Regions from separate parts of the Homo sapiens genome. Here region 2 is linked to region 1. Evidence: promoter capture Hi-C in human tissues and cell types (Jung and others, 2019). All regions are on one chromosome and are shown on one strand. Each heading gives the region's core, a stretch centred on a gene start or on the middle of the fragment in contact. The rest is flanking DNA. Distances are from core to core; before and after follow the strand shown.

The links. Contacts are between HindIII fragments. The study calls those that stand out against the background at their distance.
Region 2: a contact is called between a fragment that was not itself captured here and the fragment with the promoter of GAP43 in region 1, in 1 of the 25 tissues and cell types used here (dorsolateral prefrontal cortex).

What each region holds. Positions count from the first base shown.
Region 1 is chr3:115,621,956-115,624,760 of GRCh38, forward strand. It overlaps GAP43 (growth associated protein 43), which reads left to right and starts at 1,555. Exons shown (of 3, transcript NM_002045.4): 1 at 1,555-1,764. The coding sequence starts at 1,735. The HindIII fragment of the contact is 4,830 bases long and covers 1-2,805 here.
Region 2 is chr3:115,186,803-115,189,502 of GRCh38, forward strand. No RefSeq gene overlaps it. Among named protein-coding and RNA genes, the nearest start is that of ZBTB20, 41 kb to the left of the region's middle. RefSeq lists an enhancer at 160-349. The HindIII fragment of the contact is 3,214 bases long and covers 1-2,700 here.

The DNA.
Region 1 (2,805 bases), core at 305-2,804:
CCTGTCTGAGATAGTCCATTTTGAAATAGATATACCTTAAATTATGTTAAAATGTACTAAGCACTTATTGAGCTCAGTGATCCTGAAATATGCCTAACAATAAGCTGCCTAGTTGCCACTTATTAGCTAGGTTTATGTCTAGGAGGTCTAGGAGGGACTATGAAGAATATGAGCTGTTTAATTAGGGGTACTTGTCATCACTAATGAACAACAAGAAATAGTTTGAAAACTTCTTTGAGATATTCACTTGCAAATGTCACCCGAATTTCAGAAAAGTACAGTCTCTGGAGTAAAGCTATTATACACTCAGAGAGACTGTTGTGCTTTGCATGCGTTATATCATTTAGTCCTCAAAACATGTTGTCAAGATTGGCATTATTATCTCCATTTTAAAGATGAGAAAATTAGGTGCAAAGAGCTTCAGTAACACACTCAAACTCATTCAACAATAAATAACTAAAAATTGTGCTATACACACTTTAAGAGTCACATGTTCCTCCCCCAAAATTATGAAAGGCCATAGAAGGAATTCAAGAAGTAGGCTTCATGACTTATCGTTTCTTCTCATCTCAGATGAATTCACTTTAATCTCTCATGCCCAAATTGTAAAATATCATTTTGATCACCGTCAATATTACACAGACCTGTTTGAATGTGCTCAGCTTTTTCAGTAAAATTAGAAGAAACCACAATTTACAAACAGGTATATGTGCATTAAGGAAAAAACAAAAAACTACCATGTGATTTTAGATATGGATGCCAATTCTTAAACATTGTTTATTATTTCTGAGCTCAAGTGCTTAGAATGTTTAAAATGCAATATATTTATGTGGATTTTTTTCCAGGATATTGGAACATATATAAAATATGCTTGTGCATATCTAAGCTTTGTATTTATTTCAGGTTATATGTATACTGAGAAGAATATATAAACAGTGTATGATATTTACATGTTATTTCATTTTTTGAGGGAAATTAACCTCCACAATTATTAACTATGCATAAAATGTAATGGCAGATATGACTTATATTGTATAGGACTGACTACAATTCCTCTTTAGAAATAGCTGTTCTTTGCTTTTATAATACTAGGAAAAGAGGAAAAGAGTTCTTAAAGAAATACAAGGATTCCTCAAGCCCCTCTTCCCTAAAACATGCTCTATCATATCTCCTGGATTGACTGGAATATCCTTCTCTGCCCCCACCCCATCACCCTCTCAATGCAGTGGAAAAGTCGGTGGGTAATTGGGTCCAGATTGGAGGTGTTTAAATATTCATGAGGCTGGCAGGGGACTGGGAGGGGGCGACTGTCTAGAATGGGGGTAGGGGCTGGGGGAAGTGATTAGTCACTGAAGGCTAGAGAACAATTCCGAGAAAGAGACGGAGAGAGAGGGAAGAAAAAGACAGATAGATAGATATTGGGGGGAAGGAGAAAAAAGGAGAAGAGAGGGAAGAGAGGACAGCGGAGAGAGAGCACCAGAGAGAGAGGGAGAGAGAGAGAGAGCGCTAGAGAGAGGGAGCGAGCATGTGCGATGAGCAATAGCTGTGGACCTTACAGTTGCTGCTAACTGCCCTGGTGTGTGTGAGGGAGAGAGAGGGAGGGAGGGAGAGAGAGCGCGCTAGCGCGAGAGAGCGAGTGAGCAAGCGAGCAGAAAAGAGGTGGAGAGGGGGGGAATAAGAAAGAGAGAGAAGGAAAGGAGAGAAGGCAGGAAGAAGGCAAGGGACGAGACAACCATGCTGTGCTGTATGAGAAGAACCAAACAGGTAGAGCTAAAGATTTTTTACTTCTTGCTGTTGTGAAATAACCCGAGTACAGTATTTCCCCGTAAAGGCAAACAATTTTTTTACTGCTTCTGCTCTGGCCGTGGTGCTCGCGCTTCCTTAGCATATGGTAACTGATGGTTGCATCCCAGCTTTTATTCTTTTCTGTCTTTCATGCTCTGGTTTTGGAATGCTGCTACTAATTAGGGTGAGGGTAGAAAAAACATGCCTGTTTGGCTAGAAATAATTTTTTTTTTTCTTATTAGTGAATGCTCAGCATTTGAGGTCTCTGGTCTTGAGGGTGTGGACGTAGAAAGGGGTGTGGGGGAGATGATGTGGGCTCTACCTACAAGATGGGGAGGCATTTCTTTATATTATTTGCAAAAAAGCAGGGTTGAGGAAATAATATTCAGAACTGAGTATTGCCTCTCTGTCATACAATTTTCTCACATGTGCTGCGGAAGATGCCTTATTTCGTGCATGCATGAGCTTCGAAGGGGCGCAGGTATTTATGGAAAAACGTGCAGGTCTTATTTATTTAGTATTTATTTTTCAATGAATGAATGAAACTGTGATTTGATAGATTTTTTTTTTTTTTAAGAGAAGCTAAGACAACTGGGGCTGGGGGAGAAATTGGCCATGCAGAAGGAGAAAATCCCCTTCCTAAGATCAGCAGCCGATTGTGCACCAGCTGGTCGGAGGAGAGGGTGGACCACGCCCCTAGGAGCTCCGATGGGATGGGAAAGACAGCCGGGTATTACCTGTTGGAAACCAGGTCTTTTCTCTTATCCCCTTCCCTTGCTTCTTTCCTGGGATTGTCAGTGACCAGAGACAGGCTAACATCCTGGATAATAAGTATGGTGACTCATTTTCATCAGGAAGAGGGACACATCCAAGATTAGCAAGAATCAGAGCCCCTCCTTCCCTCCCCCACTGCCCAGGTTTTACAGCCATTTCCAATTGCTCGCTTATTTCTTGAAAGACATTTTAGAAACTTGATTGGGGTGAGAGTGGGAAGGAATGACGAGTGTGGTATTCCGCAGC
Region 2 (2,700 bases), core at 147-2,646, 440 kb before region 1:
AGTGGTTTTGGCTTTTTTTTTCCTTTCTTTCTCTCCTAGGAAGTTATTGTTTAAGGATTCTACTTTTAATTCGGAGATGCATTCTAAAGGGTCTTCTCTATTGCTTTTTCTCCCAGAATTAATGTCAGTTTGGCTTGTATGTGCACATTTGCGTGAGAAGCTGAACTGTTGTTTTCATAGGTAAATGAGAGATTTAGTTTTCTTAGCTTCGAAGAGAATGAACATTTTGCTCCACCCAGCTGAAAGGCACCCGTGGGTGACCAGGGGCCTCGTGGGAGTGTAGAGAGGGTTGACCACCTGTGATTTGCAGCAGCCCTATGGAGAATCCCCATCAAACTTGTTTAAAAAAGGGCTCATCCAGGAAGCACATATGGGAGCTGGTCACTGAGCTTTGAGCCCTCCTGGAGGTGGTAGACCTCCAGAGAATGAAACTGAGACATGAAAGAGGGTGGCAACAACTCAGTGGTAACACACTATGGAGTCCCACCCACAATCAGCACACACCACAAAAACCCTAGGCCATAGCTCAGTTCCTCCTTTTAAGAAAAAAAAGAAAAAGAAAAGTGGGAAATTAATAATCTAAAAACGAGGATAAAACAAGGAGAATGACCCCCTTTGGGGCACTCCATTGGTTTTATGGCACCTCTACTTGTTAGAGTTTGTCTAAAATAGAATTATTATGGTCTTTGTGCACATTTACATGAAAGAAAAGGGGCACTAAGATCGACCTTCAAACTACAGAGTTCTTAAGTTCTCTTTTTCTCTGTTTTTTTTTCTCCCTGCTTTAAAGCTGCTATTACTTTTTGACCAAGATAAAATCCACTGTTAGACTCCAACCATTCCTTTTCATTACTGTTTTCGCAGACCAATAAGTTTGTATTAATATCTCACGGCTAGAGTTCTGAAGTAAAAGCTATAGGATCTTTAGTGTATGAAAATGTATGTGTGTGTTTATGTGTACGTACATGTATTTTGTTGTGTTTTGGCCACAAGGTACCAAATTGGCTTAGTGAGTAGTCATCAATTAAATAATGAACCCCAATGGTTTTTAAGTTCATGTGACTTAAGTAAAATCTTTAATAATCTAGCTTTAAAATTATTGGTAAAGAACAGTAGAAATGGCTTAAGAATTTTCAGCATACATGTTTATTTTCATTTATTGATCAAGCAATTTCATACTTATCTCTGCCAAATACTATAAGGTGTCAAAATTTGGCATAAGGGATACAAAACTATAAACCCAGCCCAAAATACAATTATCTTTGCTTGCATAATTTTTGATAAATAAGAGGTTGATATTGATTCAATGAAAATAGCTAAATATTGAATTATTTAGTGAAATAGCCATAACTTCTAATCTATAGCTTTAGGCAGTCAAGTCCCCAGGCAGGAAGGGGGTTTGTTTTGTGAGGGACTGTTATCATCTCTTTCAAAACTAAACTATAAACTATGATACTCCCAAAGTTAATTCATCCAATGCCCGGAAATGAACAAGGGCAGCTTAGAGGTTAAAAGCAAAATGGAGTAGGTTGGGTCAGACCTTTTTCATTGTCCCAGTTATAATTTTGCAGTTATAGTTTCATAACTTAAAATGATGACTATTGCAGGTATCATAAATAATCTAGGTACACTATTAAAATAATTAGGTAAATGTAATGGGATAAATATTTGTAGACAAACTTGTCATAATTTAGAAACTAAAGTTAAATTAAATAATAGGTATTTCATCAATTGGGTATTTTCAAAAAAATTGTAAGAAAACATTCTTTCTAAAGTGTATCCTTTTTAAAAGGTGAATAATTGTTGTCTAATTCAAAGCTTCTTTAAGGGTTATGTATACAACAAGGAAAAAGAAACCAGGAAATAAGACAGATGTAAAGAAAGTTATATTAATATAATTAAAGAGGTATTTTTGGTAAGAAAGCTTAAAGAAAAATGACTTTATATGAGAAAGAAGCTTATATGGTAAATTTTGTCCTAGAATAAAATAACTGGTTGTTTTAAAAATGAGGGATGTTCAGGACAAACCAGAACTTCCAAGCAGTCATGAATGGTCAGTGTAAGTCATAATGAGAGGATCTATTAAAAAAAAGAAAAACTTTTATGTGACCAAGCTGTCTATAATTAGAGGGAAATTATAATGGTCTTTCTAGAGATTGAGTTTTGATTAAAAAACACACTTATACATGAAAGAATTGGTTCAAACCATGACATTTTCTTAAGGTATTGCTCTACTCTTAATAAATTACAAGACATTATAATTTTTTTAATGCAAAGTTTAACTTTTACTGCATCTTGCTGTTTTCAGCTTTCTCTCGTCTTTTAAAAGACCTGAAATCAAACTCTATCCTTTAACTCATTTTCAATTCCTATAAGTTTTTTTTCCTACAGTTTCTAACTGTTGTGGCCTGATGCAAAAAAAAAAGAAAAGAAAGGTTTTATCTTAGAGGTCTAAAGGAAATGTTTCCTTCCAACATAATATTCCCCATAGGGAACAGTAGTTGCACTGCAGAAGGTCTTTTATTTTGCCTTTGGGTAACTGGCCTAATAATTAGATCTTACACTTTATCAAAATAATTCCCACGTCATTATTACTAAGTTTGGTATGCTTAGAAAAAACTGAGATTAAAAAGTTTTCTTAAAATTAAGATTATTGCATCTGTGTAACTTTCTGTATGTGATTTTAAAGTCCTTGTGCCA